4 separate regions of the Homo sapiens genome follow, and regions 1, 2 and 3 are each linked to region 4. Evidence: promoter capture Hi-C in 16 types of primary human blood cells and fetal thymus (Javierre and others, 2016). All regions are on one chromosome and are shown on one strand. The core of a region is centred on a gene start or on the middle of the fragment in contact, and the rest is flanking DNA. Distances in the headings are between cores, read along the strand shown.

Evidence for each region. The method cuts DNA at HindIII sites, captures the fragments that hold promoters and counts their contacts. A CHiCAGO score of 5 or more calls a contact.
Region 1: a fragment that was not itself captured here is called in contact with the fragment with the promoter of KLF4 in region 4 in 2 of 17 cell types (monocytes and M2 macrophages); the score reaches 5.4 in monocytes.
Region 2: a contact is called between a fragment that was not itself captured here and the fragment with the promoter of KLF4 in region 4, in 1 of 17 cell types (monocytes). The highest score is 5.0, in monocytes.
Region 3: a contact is called between a fragment that was not itself captured here and the fragment with the promoter of KLF4 in region 4, in 1 of 17 cell types (M2 macrophages). The highest score is 5.6, in M2 macrophages.

Annotation. Positions count from the first base shown.
Region 1 is chr9:107,988,527-107,991,815 of GRCh38, reverse strand. No RefSeq gene overlaps it. Among named protein-coding and RNA genes, the nearest start is that of KLF4, 500 kb to the right of the region's middle. The HindIII fragment of the contact is 1,126 bases long and covers 942-2,067 here.
Region 2 is chr9:107,943,317-107,946,571 of GRCh38, reverse strand. No RefSeq gene overlaps it. Among named protein-coding and RNA genes, the nearest start is that of KLF4, 460 kb to the right of the region's middle. The HindIII fragment of the contact is 4,438 bases long and covers 1-3,255 here.
Region 3 is chr9:107,853,224-107,856,551 of GRCh38, reverse strand. It overlaps the pseudogene LOC101926973. Among named protein-coding and RNA genes, the nearest start is that of KLF4, 370 kb to the right of the region's middle. The HindIII fragment of the contact is 821 bases long and covers 976-1,796 here.
Region 4 is chr9:107,487,819-107,491,245 of GRCh38, reverse strand. KLF4 (KLF transcription factor 4) reads left to right here and starts at 1,477. Exons shown (of 5, transcript NM_004235.6): 1 at 1,477-2,078; 2 at 2,196-2,316; 3 at 2,979-3,427. The coding sequence starts at 2,074. RefSeq lists silencers at 1,196-1,405, 1,765-1,964, 2,616-2,665. The HindIII fragment of the contact is 11,219 bases long and covers 1-3,427 here.

The sequences.
Region 1 (3,289 bases), core at 255-2,754, 500 kb before region 4:
TGGCCAAGCCTGCCACGGCCCACAGCCCAGCAACTGCCTTTGATTGGGCTCTGCTGCCAGACCAAGGGTGGAGGGGCCTGTCCAGGGCCCCCGAAGTCTCTGAGAGGCAACAATTCTGACTAAGAAGGACACGTGGTTTCTGGAGAAGCATGCTCTGGGTCACTGGGGCCACTGGCTAATGGAGCCAGCAGGGACCTCACCAGGTTTCTTCTGAGCAGTTCTTATGGGGCTGGGTCCATCTTGGTCACAGATTCCTGGATGCCAGGGCTTCCTGGTGAGGTGAAGAGTGTGGAATGTATCTACTCCCTTCTATCCCCCAACTACCACCACCAATCTAGGGACAATGACCCTGTCTCCAACATCCAGCATCCTCTAGGGATCCTAGATGGTTGTAGGAGGAGTCTGTGCAAGTTTCACCTAGTTCTTCCTCTGTCAGAATGTCCCCTGACCCTGTCTTATCCCATTTAGTCACCCTGCCTCTAATCTCTAATTCCTGTTCTCTCTCTTTCTCTCTCTATCCCCTTTCTGTATTTAATCATAAGCTTATTTCCCTTCTCCTCAAAGTAGCTAATTCTTGACATTTTAGCTGAATTTCTCCTTTTAAATATGGAACTTTATTTCAAGGAAATCCTTGAAACAACCATGAAAGCAGGGGAAATGACCATCCAAGCTGTCATATGACATGCCACGCAACACAACATGGTTTTAGTTCAACAATATTTACTGCCTCTCTGCCAGGCATCAGGTAGGATGCTTCAGAAGACTGAGGTGGAGAGAGGGAATAAAAAATGAATGAAGCACTGATAACAGACATTTACTGAGCACTCTCTGTCAAGCTCTGTGCTGAGCTCTTCATATCTATTAGCTCCTTCCATCCTCTCAAAACCTTATGAGAAGGAACCTGTTGGTTCTCCTATATTACAGTAGAGAAAACTGAAGCTTAGAAGGTTAAATAACTTGACCAGGCTGAGCAGCTAGTTAGTGGGGAGGCTGTGTGATCCCACGGCACTAACCTGCATGGCCAAGCCCTTCATTCACGGTATCTTACTCTATCATCACAACTAACTTGCAAAGTAGGTTGTATTATCCATGTATCATACATGATGAAATCAATTGAGAAAAGATGAGTAACTTATATAATGTCACACACTTAACCAATGACAGAAAAATTTAAACCCAAACATCTGTCTCCAGAGCATTGTTTTTTCCACCAAACAAAATTACTATGGTCTCCAAAATCAAGGAGTTCTTAATTTACTAAGAGTACTAGGCCACATAAACAGCTATGATAATGTTATTTAGAAAAAAACGAGATGTGAAGGAGGAAAGGCCACCTCTGTTGAGGGGCAAAGAAATGTCTCCTCGGAAAGGAGGCGTTGAGATGGGTTGAAATGGATCTAAAAACATGGCCTGTCAAAAGTTCCACATCTCAGGACTAAGGATTTGCCTTATTCTACTTTAGGCTGAGTTGATGTATAGGGATGCTAGTTTTAATTTTCCTTGGTTGAGCCCTTTCTCCTGGTAGAAATTTTTAAGGACATCCAAATAGAAAAAGGAAATAGAAAAAATATGGAGTGAAAATGACTTTCCAAGAATATTAAGTGATAATTTTCATACCATAAAAAAGCAAAAGAAAAAAATTGATAGTAATAATGATAAAACAATAATAACCACTGTGAGCTGTGATGGCGTCTGTCACCAGACGCCTACTGCTAGTCAGCCTCATTATCAATAATGAGCCTCCCTCCTCTGTCCTGATTACTATCTTAAGATGGGGAAATGGCCTTTCAGGCAGCCAGGATGGGTTTCTGCAAATGGGTCACTAAGTATTGTAGAGAAAGACTGGGAAAGCCTCGTGGGATCCTCTTCTCACTGAGCTTGTTTTATCATCTCCCTGAAACAGCAGATCTGTGTTGAGTGCTTGCTTTGAACCAGGAATTCTACTGGGGCTGGGAGATATGATGGTTTTGGTGGAAATGAAGCAGAGGTGCTGTCACACCAGAAATAGCCTCCAAAACTCTGCTCACAGTGAGGTCCTCCTGCCCATTGCACCATGCAAACAAAGCTTACATAACTCTCATTTGAGCAATCAAGAATCTTGCTTCAAATTGCAGGTTTCACAACTGCATAGTTGATTTCTAGCCGCCTGCATTGCATTTGGTCTGACTGTCAGAGGCTGGAGAAGAAACCAGGTCAACTCCAAGAATTTGAGAAAACAATAATCATTTCTTGAGAACTCATTAAATGGGCCACGTCCTGAGATTTGAAGCCAAGTCTGTTGATGGAATAGAGGGAGGGTAAAAATTAGGAATGTCTTCACAGAGGAACTTTGAGATGAGGTTTTAAAGGATGAATAGGGAAGCGCAGGAAAGCAGGGGGAGGAATAATTCCTCTAAGCAGAGGGAAAACATGTTTAAAGGTGGAGCGGCATGAAACTGTACGATGAATTCATGAAACTATGGTAGTTTGGCCTGACTAAGCCCTGGTGAGTTCTATTACATTATTGCAGCACAGGGGAATTCCTGCAACCCCCTTGAAAAAGTCTGGAACATCTGAGATGCTCTTCGAGAGTCTATTTGCAAAAACATGCTATGGCCTCCTGGGAGAAATGTTGAAGCCAACCCCCAACCCTCCAGAGTGACTCAGGACTCCAAGACTATTAGAATTAAAATGCTGGTTTGTGGAGATTATGAAGTTTTCCCAGGTTTTGTGATGCTTCCTCAAGTGAGATCCTGGAACCCATCTTGGGCTCTACGACCCAAAAGTAATTGGCCTTACATGGGGATTCTGGATGATTGCTGGTGAGTTTTCCTGAGAATGGCGATCAGTTCTGCTGTTGATATGCTCTCCTCCTCAATCTCTGAAACGGAGAGAGATCCAGTCAACTGAGAAAGAGACCAAGTGTGGGATCTACCATGGATCAGAAGCCCTGCTGATGTTGCTCATGGGAACTTAAGAAAGCCCATTTCCAGGCCTTCTCTCTGTGCCATAGTCTCTGCTGCCATTATTCAAAAGAAAGTCAGAATCCTTGGATCTGCTCCTGATTAGGTGGGGGACTTATTTATAAATCTTTCCCGTGATCAGTGCTATTCTGGAGCCTGTGAAATGTGTTAATGTTGATGCTGCAATCCCTCAGTCTAGAACACCAGCCCCAGAGACACCACACAGGGAGTGGTGTCATGGCTGGTGATTACTCAATAATAATGAAAATAATCAATAATAACTAACATGTGGATATCATTTTACCTTTTAACAAATGCTTTTAATGCGTAATATTTCCTTTATTACC
Region 2 (3,255 bases), core at 268-2,767, 460 kb before region 4:
GGCTGAATAAATATTAGCCTTTATCACAGCTCAAACAACCCCAACTGCCAAACCGAAGAGTTCTTGGGAAGGAATTGTATTCCCTCTTCCGCTTTGGAGAACCAGAAATCACAATGTAATTTTGTCACACTGCCCAGCAGATAATTCTTTTCTAGCTAGTAAATAAAGGCAGGCACTGCCCTATGTGTTTAAAGGCATCGTATGCCTACATTTACTCTCTCTTTCAGATAAAGAGGAGTAGGGCTGGCTTAACAAGAGATACTTCCAAGAAACTGGAGGTGGGTTTTGCCTTTGACCAGTTGAGAACTTTGGTCATAGGAAGAATCCATCCAGTCTGAAGAATCTGAAGAATTATTCAAAGATACTGCAAAAAGCCACGTCCAAGAAAAAGAAGTTTCCAATTTCATGTTCATGGAGGAACTCCTTTTCAAATTCCAAAAGCTGTGTCAACACAACCAATGGGAGTTGGAGAGCCTAAGCAATCATCTGCGTGATTCAAGTTAAAAATATTTGTCCCTAAATCATTTAGTTGAGGCAAGAATAATCTTCTCTATGAATTAAATAAGCAATCACCTTAACTGTAATTAAAATATTATATTTGGACAGTGCTTTATACTTTTCAAAGTACTTTCACTTATTTCACAATTATCTCATTTTCTAGGAAGGTGAAGAGCAGAGAGGTGAAGAGACCTGTCCAAAGACACAACCATGAGATAGTAGCTGGGATCCAAGGGGTGGATGATGTGGCAGGAATGAGAGAGTGTTTAAAGTTATTTCTAACAGTCAGAGCCAGCATTAAGAGCCTAAGTGCCTGACATCTTGTCTCTCTAGTGCCATGCTGCATCTCACCTCTCTCCTCTAGAGGTGCCATATAGTCAATCACATTACGGACATCAAGGTTTATCAGCGGCACCCAGAAACTGACATCAGGGAGAAGATAATGAAGCAACTTAGTCACAGAAAGGAACTACTGTTTACTGAGCACTTTTTATATGCTGGGCCTCTTGCTAAGCCCTTTAAATATATTAGTGTATTTCATACTGTCAATAGGTTGATGAGGTAGAAATTATTATCTTAATTTAAGCCTTTGCAGGCTCAGGAGAATTTGGTGACTCTGCATCTTCAGTACAATGCTGAGGGTATCATTGCTCTCCAACTTCCAGTTAAAGGTCTCACACTTCCCAACAGGAGCTTGACTAATTAGTAAGGCCAGTTTCTCGCTGGGTCCCTCTCATATGCACCTTTTGGTTGTTGGAATCAGCTGCATCCTGAGCAGTAAGGATGCTGAGGCCACTGAGGAAAGGAGTATCTTTGCCTGCCCAAGTATCTAAGTGGAAGGTCTTGCCCTCGGGGGTACAAGTGGAAGCAGCACAGCTTAAACTCTCTAATGTGATCAACCGAACGTTTGGTGTCAAAATCCAATTTATGGATACCACCTCCAACTTCAAAGGCAAAAGAGCTTATGGTTGGTTCCTGGTTATTTGTTTAAATATTTAGATGTGTATTGCAAATCTCCTATACCTCTTTTTGCCACTAAATCTCCTGTTATCCCTTTCTCCATCCCTCTGCCATACTTCTTGCTAATGTTATCTTCATTTTCTTACTTCCCACTCACTGTTTAGCCCATGTTAATCTAATTTCAGACATAACTCTACCAGCCCGGTGCTCTCCAAGTTCACTGGTAAACTTCCTAATTGGCTAATTCAGTTGGCCCTTTCCATTGGTATCTTCTGGGCCTTTCTGCAGCATAGACGCTGCTAATCAACCTTCCTGAGTTTCTTACTGTCATTAGCTTCCATCCCACGAGCTCTCTCTGGAATTCACTCTTGGTTCTTATTCCTTCTTCACTTATTTTTAATCTCTTTTTTCTGTGATGACCCCTTAAATGCCAGAGTTTCTTAGGTTGTGTGCCTTGTCCTGCTCACTCTTGTTTCTACCCAGTCTCATAGAGCTACCATGCCGTCTAGAAGTTTCGCTTACCACCCGTCTGCGGCGGCCCTGTAGATGTTTCTTAGTTTCGTTTGGTTTGGGTTTTTGTTTTTTTTTTCCTGAGACAGATTCTCACTCTGTCACCCAGGCTAGAGTGCAGTGGTGCGATCTCAGCTCACAGCAACATCTGCTTCCAGGCTCAAGCGAGTCTCCTGCCTCAGCCTCCCGAGTAGCTGGGAATACAGGTGTGTGCCACCATGTCTGGCTAATTTTTGTATTTTTAATACGGGGGGGGGGGGGGGGGCTTCACCACATTGGCCAGGCTGGTCTTGAACTCCTGACCTGAAGTGATCCACCCGTCTCAGCCTCCCAAAGTGCTGGGATTACAAGCCCAGCCTATAGACGTTTATCTCCTTCACAAACTTTTTCATGTGCTCCAGGTGCCCCTCAAAATGCCCTCAACTTCCATATGTTTCATATTAAACTCCTCATGATTGTCCAAGATCTGTTCCTCCTCCTGTGATCTCACTCTCCATGAGCACAATCCACCCACCCACTTTCCCAAGCCAGACCCTTGGGAGTCGTTCTTAATATCCTTTTTCCCCTCAGTGCCTGGTCTGCTGCCACATACAATCAATTATCAAGTTTTCCATATTTTTTCCTCTTAAATGTGTCTATAATTGGTCCTCTTTTCCACATTATATCTGTCCCCATCATGACTTGAAACCTCATCATTTTTGCCTAAATCAATATGACAACCTTCTAAATGAAACTGGAGCCTCTATCCTCTGTTCACTTCAACTCCATCATTCACACAACATCTAGAGTGATTCAAGCATCTAGATATATTTTGAACACACATTATGTGATAGGCATTTTTTCAGTACCAGAAAAAATATATATACGCACATACATACATATATACATATATGTTATCTTTCTCTATATTTCTTTCTAAATATTTTCTATGTATCAAATATTTTCCATATATATTTCCCTCTAAACATGTATTTTGTATATAGTTAAATGTTTTTCTCTATATTTTTTCTATATATATATAACTGTTTTCTATATATATTTCCTCTCTCTATATATATGTGTGTGTGTGTATATGTATATATTCTCAAGAGAGAAAAATATATATTTTTTTGAGAGAGGGAGAATGTCCCGGTTTCATTGATTTATGTTCTATGGATCTATCTGGAGTGAAAATTTAACCATGCAACACCCTTCTAAGATGTTAGTCAAGGCCTTCCATCCTCTCTTCTCTTCCATGTTCCGCATCTCCCCCATCAATGCTACCTGCTTGACACTTAACTCCAGTTT
Region 3 (3,328 bases), core at 137-2,636, 370 kb before region 4:
TATAGAAGCAGAAAACACAAAGTTGGCAAAATCTTAATAAAGATAATTTAAAATTACAGTAGAACTTTCCAAATGAACAACACTGCACTTTAAGAAAGGCATTTAAAAGTGAGGGCTCCTGAAATTAGGCTTATCCAGGAATGCCTAGTGATGGGCAGAAGCTTCTAAAAAGATTCTAATATTTTTATTATCTTTTTAAAAAGGCTTTTTGAAAGGCAAATAGAAAGCTTAAGCAATTAATTGATAAGAAAAATTGAATCTGCTAACTTTTTGGCTTAGTTTCTATTCTGCCCTGAAGGTGAAAAGAAAGTTGGCTGTAGTATTTACAAAAGGCAGGCCCTCAGGTAAAGAGGGCTTAATTATTTTTCAGAGCTATCCATGCTGAGTTCAGGCATAGAGAATGCTTTCCCTGCCCTATTCTTTAATGGGTTTCACCCTGAACTCTGTAATTTTAGCTAAGAAACAGACACTAAGTTTAAAAGTCCACCTATTGAACTAAGTTGGTCTCCAAAATACATCTTTCTGGCACTTAGCTAGCTATTTTAAAACCATTTTATATTTTAAAAAATACATCTATAAAGGAAATCTTAGATTTTAAGATTGACTCCTCTGTGCACTGGGAAGAGAGGGAGGACTGAGTCACTAGAAACTGTGAAAGGTAGATTAGATTTACATAACATGTGTTACCTATAAGGTGATTTTCCTGGCCATTTTAACTGGGCCCTTACCTACACTCTCCTTTGTTGATTTGAGCAAATGATGGTATAATGATTAGGCCTGAAGTCTCTGTGCTTTTGAGATACACGTTTTCTCCTTTGTTTCACCTAAAAGGCATCCGTTTAGAAGTGTAAATGTAGGGTTACATAACTAACAATTACTTAGGACAATGAAATAGGTAATTGGGAAATGGATAGTCTGAATAGAGGAAAGAAAAATTATTTGTAAACTGGCCAATGCAAAACCTTCATGAAAGCTTTAAGATGTGCTTCTGTGTGTCTGTATATCTGTGTGTCTATATATGTTATGTTCATGTGATATTTCTATGTGCTCTAAAATGATACTTGGTAGATAAAGCTAGTTTTAAAATTGTTGGTATAATAAAATAGGAATATCTCCAGAATTGTCAGTATTAAATATAATTCAAACATTTTTGCCTGGATCTACTGATCAGACAGGTTTACGCTGTCTCTAATACATGTTTTAAGGCAACAAAACTGCTGCTTCTATAATATTTTTGATACTTGCTTGATTTATCTGTAAGCTAAAGCTATAAGGGCTGGCTGTTGGGCTCCCCTGAAGGTTTGCACACATCTTACTGGGAGCTTACATAAGTATTTGGTTTTGAGCCTCTGGATACTGGGGCCTGGTCAAGTGGCTATTGTGGGCTTGGGGACACATCCTGTGTTGTCAATGCCTGGGCCACCAGCTCCAATGCAGAGCCAGGCCCAATATGGCCCAGCTTTGCTTCTTGGTTATACTAGGAAGAGTCAGATCCTCCAGGCATTCTCTTTACAGCTCCATCCAGTGTTCTGACCTCTACACCTGCTGTGTAAATTCAGGATTCAGAAGGTCCCTGCCTTTCGTAGCTGTCCCGGGTGCCATGTGGTATTTGAGACTCAGTATGACTGTAGAAGACATTAGGTAGTGTACCTGTGTCATAGTTTGAAGATTCTTTTCAGTAATTTAAAAATCTTAAAGACACATTATGTTAAATTAAGTAACAGATAATCATAAAATGTTTGAGTCATTTCTAAGTTATTATAAAATACTAAAACACTAATTATTAAACATAAGCTTAAGTTTCTATACTTCATCTTATTTTACATCGTATAGAAAAGCTAAATATATTTAGATCTGTTAGTAAATAAAAAAAATTGAGGAAACATATCTCTTTTATTTTTTGAAATGAGAGTCTTGTGTTGCCCAAGCTGGTCTTGAGTTTCTGGCCTCAAGTGATCCTCCTGCCTTGGCTTCCCAAAGTGCTGGGATTACAGATGTGAACCACCATGCTCAGCTGGGAACATATCTTTCTAAAAATTTATGAAATGGTTTTTATCTATAAATACTGATATAAAACAGTTCAGATTACTTCCTAGGTTTTTCACTGGAAATTAGGGTTACTAAGGGTTGAAACTGTAGTTAATTTTAATTGTAATAGTTAATTGTAGTTAAAAGTACGAGATAAAAAAGAAACAATTCGGTATACGGAGCATATTAAGTGAGATACGGACAGAAAGAGGGACACAACAGAGGCAGGTAAGAGCTGCTGCCCTGCCGTAGCCATGACTGTGGTGAACTTGCCCACCAGAAGAATATGAAAAAGCAGAGTGACTTGGTTAAGGGGAAAGCACCAAGATGATGGGCTTTCTGTTGCCTCCTGCAAGCAGAGGGACTTGGAGACCATTCAGCAGAAGCAGAAAAAGGCAAATGAGAAGGAGAACCCAGGCCGGGCATGGTGGCTCACGCCTGTAATCCCAGCACTTTGGGAGGGCGAGGCAAGTGGATTACCTGAGGTCAGGAGTTCAAGACCAGCCTGGCCAACATGGCAAAACCTCATCTCTACTAAAAATACAAAAAAAAATTAGCCAGGTATGGTGGCACACGCCTGTAATCCCAGCTACTTCGGAGGCTGAGGCAGGGGAATCACTGGAACCCAGGAGGTGGAGGTTGCAGTGAGCTGACATCATGCCACTGCATTCCAGCCTGGGGAACAGGGCGAGATTCCATCTCAAAAATAAAAATAAAAAAGGAGAAGGAGGACCCAAGTAGATTTGTGGCTTTGTGTCCAGCCCTCTTGCCGTTTGCCAGTGTGCCTGAAGCCAGTCCAACCGTACTCACATTTCCTCCTGTAGTGCTCACAGGTACCAGCACCGATGGCATTCCCTTTGCCCTGAGCCTGCAGGGCATCTCTTTTGTGCTTCCTTCCCCTGAGGTAGCCTCTCTCCCCCCGGGCCACTCCTCAGGGTCAAGTGGTCTTCCCTTCCCAGTGTTTTTTATTCCTGTGGGGCTCACTCCAAAGTATGAAAAGTCACATTGTAATTCAAATAAATAAATAAAGTGAGATGGGTGTTTTTTGGTGAAGAACGTTATAAAAAAGACATGAGGATGAGTATGTTGTCAAACAAAAAGTAATTTTGTCTCTTTTTGAGGTTATGTAAAAGTTGTTTCAAAATGAAGGAAAATATGCTATAGATAAAACTAAATGAATATAAATGTTGGGGAAAGAAGATAAAAAGAATTATACAAGAGATTATAATCTTATAAGATTGTAAGATATTATGTAAGAGGTTAAAAGAGATTATTTTATAAAATACAAGGTATCCATTGT
Region 4 (3,427 bases), core at 228-2,727:
TTGAGAGCTAGGATCCCACCGCATCGCTCCACTTCCTGGCACATGGTCACTTCCCAGGGAAGTCCCTTTAGGGGGGCCTGACCTACCCGGAGCCTGAGCCGAAGGAACGAGTTGTCCTTTGACCTTTACTGGCCATTTCACCTCTTTATGACTCAATTTCTCATCCATAAAGTGGAAAGGAGAGTGCGTGGCTTGAAAAGTCATCAGTGAGTGTTTAATTCTTCTTTAATGGGTGTCTTCTATTATTATTATTATTCTACAGTGCAATTTAGTCATCAAATATTACAGGCAGTGGCTCACGCCTGTAATCCCAGCACTTCGGGAGGCCGAGGCAGGCTGATCACTTGAGGTCAGGTGTTCGAGACCTGCCTGGCCAACATGGTGAAACCCCGTCTCCACGAAAAATACAAAAATTAGCCGGCGTCGTGGCGCACGCCTGTAATCCCCGCTACTCGGGAGGCTGACGCAGGAGAATCGCTTGGACGCAGGAGGCGGAGGTTGCACTGAGCTGAGATCGTGCCACTGCATTCCAGCTTGGGCGACACAGCGAGACTCTGTCTCACAAAAAAAAAAAAAAGAAAGAAAAAAAAAGGAAAGGGCTTCGAGATGGCTGGTTGAAAACTGTCTCCGCGCCTCACAGTCCCTCTTCTCTCCCTTATGCCTCTGAGTAAATCTTGAGCCCTTTCACTCCCTTTCTCGCTATTTAAAGTATCAAAACCATAACTCCCCATTCGTGCCTCTTTCCGCCTGTTCCCGGCGGAACACTCCTCTGGCCTTCTCTTGAGGCTCCCAGTTCACGCTGCACAGTGCTGGGCACTGCCTCCTCTCCACACCCCTAGCGCCCCCCACCCCTCAGCAGAAGGGCCCGCGAGGAACCGTGCGAGGTCAGGCCGAGCGCCGGCACCGCCACCGGCACTGGCGCTGAGCGACGAGAGCGGACTCCTGCGAGCGCAGAGAGGGAGGGGGAGATGGAGGGCTGGATGAGTCACGCGGATAATCGCGCTCTTCTCCAGCGCGCAGACAGCGCGGCAAGCGCGTATGCTAGCAGGGGTGCGGACGCGTGACCGTGCCGCCCGCTGACCCCACCAGTCTTCGCGGGCTTCGAACCCAGGGAGCCGACAATGGCGGTGAGTACGGCCCTGGTCGCGCAGCGACCGAACCTGCGCCCGGTTCCTCGCGCCCCGCGCTGGGGCGGACGCCGCCGCCGCCGCCGACACCACTGCCGCCGGCGTCAGCTCGGCTCCAGCCCGCCAGCTGCCTGGCTGGCGTCACGGCCCGGCCCAGCCCCGCCCGCGCCCCTCCTTCCCCTCCCCCGCCCCCACGTGCGCCGAGTTTGTTGATTTAGCTGCCATAGCAACGATGGAAGGGAGCCTCGGGGGGGGCGGAGAGAAGAAAGGGAGGGGCGGGGCATGGGAGAAGGCGGAGGAAAAGGCTGTAGCGAAGGAAGTTATAAGTAAGGAACGCGCGCCGGCGGCCGGCAGTTTCCCGACCAGAGAGAACGAACGTGTCTGCGGGCGCGCGGGGAGCAGAGGCGGTGGCGGGCGGCGGCGGCACCGGGAGCCGCCGAGTGACCCTCCCCCGCCCCTCTGGCCCCCCACCCTCCCACCCGCCCGTGGCCCGCGCCCATGGCCGCGCGCGCTCCACACAACTCACCGGAGTCCGCGCCTTGCGCCGCCGACCAGTTCGCAGCTCCGCGCCACGGCAGCCAGTCTCACCTGGCGGCACCGCCCGCCCACCGCCCCGGCCACAGCCCCTGCGCCCACGGCAGCACTCGAGGCGACCGCGACAGTGGTGGGGGACGCTGCTGAGTGGAAGAGAGCGCAGCCCGGCCACCGGACCTACTTACTCGCCTTGCTGATTGTCTATTTTTGCGTTTACAACTTTTCTAAGAACTTTTGTATACAAAGGAACTTTTTAAAAAAGACGCTTCCAAGTTATATTTAATCCAAAGAAGAAGGATCTCGGCCAATTTGGGGTTTTGGGTTTTGGCTTCGTTTCTTCTCTTCGTTGACTTTGGGGTTCAGGTGCCCCAGCTGCTTCGGGCTGCCGAGGACCTTCTGGGCCCCCACATTAATGAGGTAGGTGAGGCGCGCGGCGCTGGGAGCAGGGAGGGGTGAGGACCGGTGGGACGCGCCGGAACGACGGCCGAAAGCCGCCCCTGACTCTCCTGTCTCCGCTCCCTGCCTTGCTCGCAGGCAGCCACCTGGCGAGTCTGACATGGCTGTCAGCGACGCGCTGCTCCCATCTTTCTCCACGTTCGCGTCTGGCCCGGCGGGAAGGGAGAAGACACTGCGTCAAGCAGGTGCCCCGAATAACGTGAGTATCGCTCCGGGCCGCCGGGAACGCCCGGTGGGTTTTCGTGGGTGTGGTGGGGGCGGGCGGAGCCTTGGGGTCACCAAGAGCCACTGAACGAGGGTAAGGAGCGGCCACCGCGCGGACTCCGCAACCTTCCCGGGATAGCTTCCGTGTCCTTGGCTCAGCTGTGTATGCCCGTGGTGCGAGCACTGCGGAGCCGCCTGGGGCGCAAGCCGGGTCTTCACCAGTCCCCGGGCGCGCTGTCGGTAGGGCGGGCGCTCTCGGGCCACCGGGCGGGAGGTGGCCGCGTCCCCAGACACTGGCTGGGCCAGAGTGAGTTTAGCGCGTAGGCGGCCCCGTGGCGAGAGCGCACCGAGAGAGCCTCGGTGTGCCAATTCCGGGGACGTCCACGGGACCTGGAGGGGGAGGGACCAGCCGCGGCGCTCGCTCACACGCAATTGGGCAGACAGGACATAACACCCGCAATACAGACGCATCACCTCTTCTTCGACCCGGGAGTGGGCCGAGATTGCAGCGCTGGCGCCCTGGGTTCCCGGGTGCTTCCTGCCTGACCAGTCCCCATGTCTGGGCGGTGCAGTCGCGCGTGGCCCGCCAGCACGTCAGTATGTCGGGTGGCAACAGGGGACCACCACTGACAGGTCTCTCCCGCCCTGTCCCCGCAGCGCTGGCGGGAGGAGCTCTCCCACATGAAGCGACTTCCCCCAGTGCTTCCCGGCCGCCCCTATGACCTGGCGGCGGCGACCGTGGCCACAGACCTGGAGAGCGGCGGAGCCGGTGCGGCTTGCGGCGGTAGCAACCTGGCGCCCCTACCTCGGAGAGAGACCGAGGAGTTCAACGATCTCCTGGACCTGGACTTTATTCTCTCCAATTCGCTGACCCATCCTCCGGAGTCAGTGGCCGCCACCGTGTCCTCGTCAGCGTCAGCCTCCTCTTCGTCGTCGCCGTCGAGCAGCGGCCCTGCCAGCGCGCCCTCCACCTGCAGCTTCACCTATCCGATCCGGGCCGGGAACGACCCGGGCGTGGCGCCGGGCGGCACGGGCGGAGGCCTCCTCTATGGCAGGGAGTCCGCTCCCCCTCCGACGGCTCCCTTCAACCTGGCGGACATCAACGA